2 separate regions of the Homo sapiens genome follow, and region 1 is linked to region 2. The links are contacts of gene promoters, found by promoter capture Hi-C in blood cells and fetal thymus (Javierre and others, 2016). All regions are on one chromosome and are shown on one strand. The core of a region is centred on a gene start or on the middle of the fragment in contact, and the rest is flanking DNA. Distances in the headings are between cores, read along the strand shown. Region 1 overlaps LOC105377277 (a long non-coding RNA gene). Region 2 holds the start of CXCL2 (C-X-C motif chemokine ligand 2).

What was found. The method cuts DNA at HindIII sites, captures the fragments that hold promoters and counts their contacts. A CHiCAGO score of 5 or more calls a contact.
Region 1: a contact is called between a fragment that was not itself captured here and the fragment with the promoter of CXCL2 in region 2, in 1 of 17 cell types (megakaryocytes). The highest score is 6.7, in megakaryocytes.

What each region holds. Positions count from the first base shown.
Region 1 is chr4:74,130,897-74,136,984 of GRCh38, forward strand. All of the region lies in intron 1 of LOC105377277 (a long non-coding RNA gene), which reads right to left. It also overlaps a transcript of MTHFD2L not described here. Among named protein-coding and RNA genes, the nearest start is that of MTHFD2L, 24 kb to the right of the region's middle. The HindIII fragment of the contact is 511 bases long and covers 1,988-2,498 here.
Region 2 is chr4:74,095,786-74,101,669 of GRCh38, forward strand. CXCL2 (C-X-C motif chemokine ligand 2) reads right to left here and starts at 3,410. Exons shown (of 4, transcript NM_002089.4): 1 at 3,236-3,410; 2 at 3,014-3,137; 3 at 2,816-2,899; 4 at 1,255-1,986. The coding sequence starts at 3,335. The coding sequence ends at 1,971. RefSeq lists a silencer at 1-101. The HindIII fragment of the contact is 3,135 bases long and covers 2,872-5,884 here.

The DNA.
Region 1 (6,088 bases), core at 993-3,492, 34 kb after region 2:
ATACAAAATCAATGTGCGAAAATCACAAGCATTCCTATACACCAATAATAGACAAACAGAGAACTAAATCCTGAGTGAACTCCCATTCACAATTGCTACAAAAAGAATAAAATACCTAGGAATACAACTTACAAGGGATGTGAAGGACCCTTCAAGAAGAACTACAAACCGCTGCTCAAGGAAATGAGAGGACACAAACAAATGGAAAAACATTCTATGCTCATTGATAGGAAGAATCAATATTGTGAAAAAGGCCATACTGCCCAAAGTAATTTATAGATTCAATGCTATCCCATCAAGCTACCATTGACTTTCTTCACAGAATTAGAAAAAGCTACTTTAAATTTCATGTGGAAACAAAAAAGAGCCCATATAGCCCAGACAATCCTAAACAAACAGAAAAATGCTGCAAGCATCATGCTACCTGACTTCAAACTATATTACAAGTCCACAGTAATCAAAACAGCATGGTACTGGTAACAAAATAGATATACAGACCAATGGAACAGAACATAGGCCTCAGAAATAACACCACTCATCTACAACCATCTGATCTTTGACAAACGATAAAAATAAGCAATAGGGAAAGGATTCCTTATTTAATAAGTGGTGTTAGGAAAACTGGCTAGCCATATGCAGAAAACTGAAACTGGACCCCTTCCTCACACCTTAAACAAAAATTAACTCAAGATGGATTAAATACTTAAACATAAGGCCTAAAGCTATAAATGCCCAAGAAGAAAACCTAGGCAGTACCATTCAGGACACAGGCATGGGCAAAGTCTTCATGACTAAAACACCAAAAGCAATGGCAGCAAAAGCCAAAATTGACAAATGGGATCTAATTAACCTAAGGAGCTTCTGCACAGCAAAAGAAACTATCATCAGAGTGAACAGGCAACCTATAGAATGAGAGAAAAATTTTGCAATCTATCCATCTGACAAAGGGCTAATATCCAGGATCTACAAAGAACTTAAACAAATTTACAAGAAAAACAAACAAACATGCCCATCAAAAAGTGGGTGAAGGATGTGAACAGACACTTCTTAAAAGAAGACATTTATGCGGCCAAAAAAACATATATAAAAAGAAAGCTCATTATCACTGGTCATTAGAGAAATGCAAATCAAAACCACAATGAGATACCATCTCACACTAGTTAGAATGGCAATCATTAAAAAGTCAGGAAACAACAGATACTGAAGAGGAAGTGGAGAAATAGGGATGCTTTTATATTGTTGGTGGGAGAATAAATTAGTTCAGCCATTATGGAAGACAATGTAGCGATTCCTCAAGGATCTAGAACCAGAAATACCATTTGACCAGCAATCTCATTACTGGATATATACCCAAAGGATTATAAATCATTCTACTATAATCACACATGCACAGGTATGTTTCTTGCAGCACTATAGCAATAGCAAAGATGTCAAACCAACCCAAATACCCATCAATGATAGATTGGATAAAGAAAATGTGGCACATATACACCATGGAATACTATGCAGCCATAAAAAAGGATGAGTTCACATCCTTTGCAGAGACATGGGTGAAGCTAGAAACCATCATTCTCAGCAAACTAACACAAGAACAGAAAACCAAACACCACATGTTCTCACTCATAAGTGGGAGTTGAACAATGAGAACACATGGACACAGGGAGGGGAACATCACACACCAGGGCCTGTCAGAGGGTGGGGCGCTAAGGGAGGGACACCATTAGGAGAAGTACCTAATGTAGATGACGGGTTGATGGGTGCAGCAAACCACCATAGCACATGTATACCTATGTAACAAACCTGCACATTCTGCACATGTATCTCAGAACTTAAAGTATAATAATAATGAAAAAAATGCTCTACACTTTAACTCCACACCTCCCACAAACACTTTGAATTTTTATTATATCAGTTCGCATATTTTAAAAATATCTATTTTGAACAGGTTGTTGTCGCTATTATTGTTTTTGATAGATTTGTCTTTATAAGCTTCTTACTAGAGTTATGATTGGATTGCACACCACAATTAAATTATTAGCATATTCTGGGGTTGTGTTCATACTTAATTTTACCAGTGGGTTTTATACCTTGAAATATTTTCTTTTAGTTAGTACACTAATATGTTAGCATTTTTTAATTTCAGGTTGAAGAATTCCCTTTAGCATTTCTTGCAAGACGGGTCTAGTAGTGGTGAATTCTCTTAGCTTTTGTCTGTGAAAGACAATTTCTCTTTGTTAATGCTGCCCTATTTCCTTCTGGCCTACATGGTTTCCATTGTGAAGTCTGTTGCCAGATGAACTGGAGTTGCTTTGTTATTTTACTCTTTTGCTGCTTTCTGGATCTTCTCTTTGTCTTTGATATTTGAAAGTTCAATTATTATATGCCTTGGTTAGTGTTACTTGGGTTGAATCTGTTTGGTGTTCCCTGACCTTTCTATATCTAGATATTTCTGTCTTTCATGAGTTTTGGAAAGTGCTCTGTTATTATTTCTTAGGATAAGCTTTTCTCCCCTTGCTCTTGCTCAGCTCCCCCTTAAACACCAATAATTTTTAGATTTGGTCTTTTGAGGTAATTTTCTATATTTTAAAGGTGGCCTTCATTTCTTTTTATTGTTTTTTTCTTTTCTTTCTTTGGACTGTATTTTCTTAATAGCCAGTCTTTGAGCTCACTGATTCTTTTCTCTAACCCATTCTGTTATTGAGATCCTCTAAAGAGTGTTTCAATTCAGCAAATGTGGTTCTCCGTTCCAAGATTTCTGTTTCATTTTTAAATTATTATTTCAATTTTCTTGTTAAATTTCTCTGATAAGTATCTGAATTGTTTTTCTATGTTATCTTGTAGGTCACTGAGTTTCCTTAAAATTGCTATTTTGAATTCTTAGTTATAAAGTTCACATATCGGTTTTCTAATCCCAAAATGGCAGCATAGAAGCAAGCTTGCTTCTCTCCCCTCCACCAGAAACCAAAAAGAAATACACAGCAGCAAGATCTTCACCAGCAGCAACCCAGAGATCCTGTATGAGGATGAGACAGTTCCTGTAGGTACAGAGAAGTGGAAACATTCTGAGCAGATGGTAGGAGAACCAGATTCTACATCCATGAGGCCTCTTCCCTGCATTACACCAGGCATCAGCAGTATGAAAAATCTGCCCTCAACTCATGGTTTCTGCACTGAAAAACGTGAAATTGAGATTGTCAACCAGCTTTCCCATCTTCTTCGGTTTCCTGCCAGGAGACCTGCCTTTGCCTTAAACCACAGGTAGCACTGTGACTGCCTGGAGGGAGAAATGTCTGTGAAGGCTGGCAAAGACAAATAGGGAAGCCAGGACTACCATCCTCAGCCGTAAAAACTCCTTGTAACTTGACCAAAGGAGATGCCAAATCAGTAGAAATCATGTAGCAAGTATGTTCCACAAGTCCCCTGGGAACACACCCGTGGCCGGCCTTCCCACAGTGCTAGGGTAATCCCTTTGGTCCTCCTCCTTATGGGACAGGCAGTGCCATGGCCATTTGCAAAAGTCAAGGTAAACATAGGCTTATGGCGCCATCTAGAGCCGAAAACAAGGCAGCAAGCTGGCAGTTAAGATTCATAAGCAACTGTATTCAATAAAAACCAAACCAAACTAGACAGATAAAGCTGGACTAAATAATTATTAATACAAATACATAGATGTATACCCACAAGAAACAACAGCAAACATGGAACCATAACCTTCTAGACAAAGCAAAGTTCCAGCGACTGACCCTCCTGAGATGGCGATTTGTGAACTCTCTGACCAAGAATTCAAAACAGCTGTTTTAAGGAAACTTTGTTATCTCTAAGATAACACAGAAAAGCAACTCAGATATTTATCAGAGAAATTTAACAAGGAAATTGAAATAATGATAAGCAGAAATCTTGTAACTAAGAACTACATTTGCTGAACTAAGAAACTCTTCAGGGGATCTCAACCACAGAATAGGTCAAGCAGAGAAGAGAATCAATGAGCTCAAAGACTGGCTGTTAAAAAATAAACAGAGGAGAGAAAAGAAAAAAAGAATGAAAATGAGAGAAGGCCACTTACAAGATATAGAAAATTACCTCAAAGACAAAATCTAAAAATTATTGATGTTCAAGAGAGAGCAGAGCAGGAGCAAGGGTAGAAAGCTTATTCAAAGAAATAATAAGAGAATACTTTCCAAAACATGAGAAAGATATAAATATTCAGGTACAGGAAGGCCTTAGAGCATCACATTAGTCAAATAAGACTAATGAAGGTATTTACTAATCAAACTGTCAAAGATCAAGCATAAAGATAAAACTGTAATGGCAGCAAGAGAAAAGAAGCAAGCAGCATATAAAGGAGCTCCAAATCATCTTTAGCCAGAATAAGAAAAAAAGAGAGAAGACCCAAATAAATAAAAGTAGGAACAAAAATGGACACATGACAACTGAGACCTCAGAAATACTAAGAATCATTAGAAACAATTAGGAACCATTACATGCCAACAAATTGGAAAATATAGAAGAAATGGATAAATTCCTGGACACATGCAACCTACCAATATTGAACCATCAACAAATAGAAAACCTCAATAAGCCAATAATGAGTTATGAAATCAAAGCCATAATAAAAAGTCTCCCATCAAAGAAAAGCTCACGGCCTGATAACTTCACTGCTAAGTTCTACCAAACATTTAAAGAACTAATACCAATTCTATTCAAATACTTCAAAACGATTAAAGAGGAGAGAGGGAATACTTTCAAACTCATTCTACAAGGCCAGTGTTACTGTGATACCAAAACCAGACAAGGACACATTTTTTTTTTAAAGAAGCTAGAGGCCAATATCACCAGTGAACACAGATGTAAAAATCTTCAGCAAAATACTCATTTACCATTGTCAAGTAGAATTCATTCCAGAGATACAGGATGGTTCAACATATGCAAATCAATACATGTTATACACGACATTAACAGAATCGAGAATGAGAATCATATAATTATTTCAATAGATGCCATAAAGGTAAAGGCATTTGATAAAATTCAACATTCCTTTATGATAAAAATCCTCAACAAACTGGGCATAGAAGAAACATACCTGAAAATAATAAAAGCCATCTATGACAAACCCATAGCTAACAACACACTTAACAAGGAAAAATTGAAGGCCTTTCCTCTAAAGGCTAGACCAAGATAAGAATGCCCACTTTCACTATTATTTTGCTGTTATTCAATATAATACTGGAAGTCCTGGCCAGAGCAATTAGGTAAGAAAAAGAAATGAAGGAAAACCAAATTGGAAAGGTAGAAGTCAAATTAGCTTTGTTCATCTTATATGCAGAAAAACCTAAAGACTCTACCAAAAAAAACTGTTATAACTCATACAGGAATTTAGTAAAGTTGTAGGATACAAAATCAATGTACAAAAATTAGTAGTGTTTCTACACACCAAGACTGATCTAGCCAAAAATGAAGTCAAGAAGGCAATCTCATTTAAAACTACAAAGAATATGCAATACCTGGGAATCAATTGAAACCAAAGATGTGAAAGACCTACACAAGAAAAACTATAAAACTCTGGTGAAAGAAATAGAAGAAAGCACCAAAAAATTGGAAAAATATTCTCCGCTCATGGATTGGAAGACTTAATATTGTTAATATGACAATACTACCCCAAACAATTTCCAGACTCACTGCAATCCCCATCAAAATTCCAATGACATTCTTCACAGAAATGTTTTAAAAATCTGAAATTCATATGGAACTGCAAAAGATCCTAAATAGCCAAAGCAATCCTGAACAAAAAGAACAAAGCTGTATACATCACACTACCTGACTTCAAATCTATTACAAAGCTATAGTAACCAAAACAGTATGGTACTGGCATAAAAACAGACAGATAAATAAAACAGAATAATAATCTGGAAATAAATCCATGCATTTGCAGCCAATTCATCTTCAGCAAAGGCATTAAGAGCCTAAAATGGGGAAAGGTCAGCCTTTTCAATAGGTGGTGCTGAGAAAATTGGATAACTATATGCAGAAGAAAGAAACTAGACCCCTATCTCTCACCATACACAAAAATTAAATCAAAATGAATTAAAGA
Region 2 (5,884 bases), core at 2,160-4,659:
CCCCAGAGGGCAAACGCTATATGAGGTCCCATCAAAATTCCACTAGGAAGGATGCAAACTAATGCAGTCAAATCTTAGAAGCATTGTGTTTGGTATATTGCTATAAAGGATTGAAACAACATTAAACTTAGTGCTAGTTACTTATATTTGAAGGTTAGAACATTGGGTCCAAATTTCAATCAGAAGTTTCCACAAGTGAAGTATTCAGCCACTCACTTTTTATGGTTCTGTTATGACACAAACTACTTGAGTTTTGAAAAACAAAATATTTTAGCCACCATTTTATTGACAGCTTCATTAAATTGTCAACAATTATATGAAAAATTATTTAGCAAAAGCAAACAAATGCGATCCCTTGTTAAGATAACTACAAGAATTTAATTTTTTTTAAATGAAAACAAGTTTATTAAGAAAGTAAAGCAATAAAGAGTGGCTATTCCATAGGCAAAGCAGCAGCCTGAGCTGCTGGTTGGCCATTTTTATGGTTATTTCTTGATTATATGCTAAACAAGGGGTGGACTATTCATGAGTTTTCTAGGAAAGGGGTGGGCAATTTCCTAGAACTGAGGGTTCCTCTCTTTTTTAGACCATACAGGGTAACTTCCTGATGTTGCCATGACACTTGTAAACTGTCATGGGGCTGGTAAGAGTGTCTTTTAGCATGCTAATATATTATAATTAGTGTATAATGACGAGTGAGAACGACAGAGGTCACTCTCGTCTCCATCTTGGCTTTGGTGGGTTTTAGCTGGCTTCTTTACTGTAACCTGTTTTATCAGCAAGGTCTTTATGACCTGTATCTTGTGCCAATCTCCTATCTCATCCTGTGACTTCGAATGCCTAACCTACTGGGAATGCAGCCCAGCCCAGTAAACCTCAGCCCCATTTTGCCTAGCCCCTATTCAAGATGGAGTTGCTCTGGTTAAAACGTCTCTGCCATATTTCCCCCCTCCATATTTTTAAGGAGGTAAATTTGAGTAGCAAGGTAGTAAGGAACTTCTTGTAAAAATGGCAATATGTATCAGTGATTCTCCCATCAGGGGCAAGACCATAGTTTGGTAAGGCACATTCTTTACTAGGTGAGAGCCAAGGGGAGTGACAGCAATCACCACATGAAATTAGGCATAATTCATAGTTTATCTGTATAGCAGATTGAAAACCCAGAAAAAAATTGAGAAATAAATATTGATGTAAATCATCAGATTTTTCAGCAAATATAGTCCTTGTTTCCCCCAAAATAAAACAAACATTTTATATTTTTAAATATTTTATTTTCCTGTTCTTTGTGAAAACATCAATAAATATCGAAACCTCTCTGCTCTAACACAGAGGGAAACACTGCATAATTAACATTAAACAAGGCAGTATGCCTTACAAGAAAGACATAAAATGTCCAAGGGATATTTAGAACATTTTAGTTCTTAAAGCTTCAACATGAGAAATGTTGACCACACACTGTGAAATCATTTCAATAAATAACAACTGACATTCATCTTTACAGTTACAAAATAGACACACATACATTTCCCTGCCGTCACATTGATCTCACTGGCCATTTTCTTGGATTCCTCAGCCTCTATCACAGTGGCTGACATGTGATATGTCATCACGAAGAAATATTAACAAATGACTAGAGAATATCTGCAAACCTTCTATCTTCAAATTAAATATGAATCAGGATTGAACTAACTTGGGTTTGACCTAAAATAAACAATAAATATAATGGGAGAGTGTGCAAGTAGATTCAATCATAACCTTATTTTACACATAAAATATTAACATAGAATCTTCTAAAACAAACAAATAAATAAATAAATAAATAAATAGAAGACTTCTCCTAAGTGATGCTCAAACACATTAGGCGCAATCCAGGTGGCCTCTGCAGCTGTGTCTCTCTTTCCTCTTCTGTTCCTGTAAGGGCAGGGCCTCCTTCAGGAACAGCCACCAATAAGCTTCCTCCTTCCTTCTGGTCAGTTGGATTTGCCACTGTAATGAGAAAATGGGTGCCCTGAGTAGGTGCTCAGGAAAGCTGACTGCACAACAGTCTTCTCCTGTCCTGTTTCCCCAGGCTCTAGAGTTTTCTGAATGCAGTTTCCCCAGCCTGGCACCCAAGTGGGTACTGCCTGTGACAGCTGTGCTGTGTGGCAAGGACCTCTAGGCTTGGGATGCTCTTTTAGGAATGGGGGTGACGTGGGGTGGAGGAGTGGCAGTCTACACTGTTTTACTGGCTAAAACAGCCAGAGCCTATTGCTCTTTGTCATACTGGGCCTCACTTGAGCCTCAAAGCAACCTCATGATGTAGCTACCATTATTTTCCCTGTTTTGCTGAGTCTCAGATAAACTAAATAATATTGTCTCTGAGTGACATGGCTAATAGGTGGTGGCAACCAGTTATATACCCAGTGCAATATTATTGTGAAATCTCTGCACTTCAACCCTAAACTTTTACAAAAAACCAGGGGGTCTGCTTTTCAGGTCTGAAAGTCAGTAGGAACTAGGGGAAATGAAGCTTGTGTTTTTTAACAGGTGGAAAACACTTCAGCACAACTGGCAAACTCCAATGAGACCTTACATGAAAGCAGTTTTACCTACATTCACTGGCAGGAGGGAAGAACCTGGGTGGTGACCCTGGGCACTGGGAATATCCTCTGGCACCAGAACAGATTAATAACCTTAATGGCAACTTTGTGAAAATAATAATTTTTTCAGTCCTGCAGCTAACCCTGGGTTTTCCTGATTTACTTTTTAGGGGGCAGACGCCAGTATTTCTGACCAACAGCTCCAGTCGCCTGTGTACATGGAAATTATAACTTACTTTTTCAGCATCTTTTCGATGATTTTCTTAACCATGGGCGATGCGGGGTTGAGACAAGCTTTCTGCCCATTCTTGAGTGTGGCTCTGCAGAGAGAAGGGAATCTCGTGAGACAGGAGGTCGGGCTGAGGACAGGGTTTGGGGCAGCGGGAGAGTCGGGGACCCCAGCAGTGGCAGCGGCAGCGATGGGCGAGACTTACATGACTTCGGTTTGGGCGCAGTGGGGTCCGGGGGACTTCACCTTCACACTTTGGATGTTCTTGAGGTGAATTCCCTGCAGGGTCTGCAAGCACTGGCAGCGCAGTTCAGTGGCCAGGGGCGCTCCTAGGGAAGAAGAGACTCGCTGATTGAGCGGGGCTGTCGGCGCGGGGCGCCCACCCCAGCCGCGTCCGGCCCGGGGACCCCAGGGCGCCGGGACCCACCTGCTGCGCGCCGGCTGGCGGCCACCAGGAGCAGGAGCAGCAGCGCCACCCGCAGGAGCCGGGGATTGCTGGGGGCGGCGGAGAGCGTGGCGCGGGCCATGGGGCTCAGCAGGCGGTTCGAGCGGCTGTGCGAGGAGGAGAGCTGGCAAGGAGCTGCCTGTGGCCCGGGCTCTGTGGCTCTCCGAGAACGGCGAACCCCTTTTATGCATGGTTGGGGCTGGAAAGCCCGGAGTCCCGGGCCAGGGAAATTCCCGGAGCTCCAGATCGATCCCGAGTTCGGAAGGAAGGCGATGGCCCCGCCTCTGGGGTGGAGGGGGGTCGGGGCACTCACGAGTGACGTCCGGGTCTGACTGTCTTGCGTAACTCCCGCCAACTGTGGGATGTTCTCTTTCTGCCCCGAATCCCTGGAGCGGGAGCGAGAGCCCGCCGCTCTCAGAGATACCGAGATAACCGCCTGCGAGGAGGCGCTTCGTGAACCCAGTGCAGTGCGTCGTGGGTCAGATCCCTTAGACCCACGTAGGGACCGCGCTACATCCTTACCGGGGGGAGTTACTTCTCTGGAAGACATTTCAGTTGTTGGGATTGAAAGTTAGGGCAAGAACTGCAGCATGTCTTATCTATCCTCTCTCTTTAGTTTGGGTTCTGCAAATTTCATTAATGTTTGAAATAAACGCACGCTTTAACAGTACATGTGTCATCTCAGATGACGCATAAGAGCTTTTGTCTCCTTCCTGGTGTTTTATGATCTTAAAAGCAAATATCACGTGTGTGTGTGTGTGTGTGTGTGTGTGTGTGTGTGTGTGTGTGTGTTTCAACGTAGTGGAGCCAGGTGTTGGGTGCGGGAACAGACCATTGCCAAGGGTCAATTCAGTGTTTATTTTAGTTAACAGTGTTGCAATCCCCCATCCTTTCTCTCTTTGAAATCTTGGAACATCTCGAACTCTAGTAATTCCAGTAGCATCAATTTTTTGTTGTATGGAAGTCTGTGTTTTGATCCATGGAAGTCACTGGGAGCTGCGAGGGGCCTGTTGGGCTCAGGAGGTCTGCCTTTTCTAGTGCTGTCCCTGGGCAGAAAAGGCCATAGACACCACCAGAAAAGGAGCAGGGAATGAGACTCCGCTTGTTTACTACTCTAAGCACAAGCAGACATGTCTGATATATACATACTAGATTGCTAACATAATTGCATTTCCATGCCATATGTATTTACCAGCATCCTGGGATTGGTTCCCTCTAGAGAAACAGCTATCGAGGAAATTTTAGTTCTAGAGGAATGTCAATAAAGCATTTCCAAGCCTGTTTAGCTGATGCCTTCTCACTGGATTACTGACTTTTCATCATCAATTTCAATGACCCCCTCTCTTTAAAAATTAAGCTGTAGGCCTACAATACTCTGTCTTAATTCTTCCTGGTGGATGCAGACTTCAGGGATATGGAGATATTCTGCCACTGCTATGAGAAGGGCTGGGAGTGGCACGAGGATGAAGAAGTGGGACTACCTTAGGAATAGAGTGTTCCCTGGATGCTGCAGCTGTAGAGATCACTTGATAAGGATGTCAGGGCTGAAGTTTCAGCCATACCACTAACTTGCTTCATGACCCTTGGTAATTTATGCTTTATTTGCTCATGTTTCTCCCCTGTAGAAGAGCTTATAATAGTGCCTGCCTCACGGGGTTGTTAGAAGTATTGATTGTTAATATGTGTAAACCATCAGTGCATGTAAAGTGTTATGTAAATATTTGTTAAATAACAAAATAGAAGTGGTGTTTCACAACCTTACTGATATAGGCTGGATGTTTGTGTCTCTTTCAAATTCAGATGATGAAGCCCTGACTCCCTTATGTGCTAATATTAGAAGACAGGACCATGGGAAGTAATTAGGTTTAGGTGAGGTTATGAAGGTATGGCCCCCATGATGGGATAAGTGCCATTACAGCAAGAGATCAGTGAGCTTTCGATCTCTGGCTCTCTCTCCCTTTCTGCATTGTGAGGACACAGCAAGAAGGCCACCATCTGCAAACTGAGAAGAGGGCCCTCACCAAGCATGAAATCTGCCAGGATCTTAATCTTGGACTCCCCAGCCTCCAGAACTGTGAAATAATTGTTGTTTAAGCCCCCTAGCCTATGGCATTCTGTTATAGCAGCTCAAACTGACTAAGACACTTAACTAAACAGAAGCACTCTGATAAAGCCTTATGAACACACACACGCACAAAGAAAGAAATATTTTCAAAGAAACATCTTCTAATTTACCTTTAAAATTTTTCAGCATCAGAAATTTTAAAGGAGGGTGCATTTCTATCCTTATGGGATCTTACAATAATTTTTTGATCCATTGTTTGTTTGAAATTTTAGTTTCAATCACTTTCCACATAAAATGAGAATAAGAGTAAAATTCTACCCTATCCATTTATTAGAAAAGATTTATGAAATGACTCTGCCTTGGGCATTAACAGCTAGCTGCCCAAACTTCTTTATTTTGTGCTAAAGAACTAAAGAACAATAGAAAACATCAGCTTATAATGATTGCCAGACTCATCCCAAAGTATTGATGTGAGTAAATAGAAAGAGTAAAATTTCTATTATCTACAGTAACAGTCCCTCAAAAAGATGAGAAATTTCAAGAATCAGCCCATCATTTGTAAAATT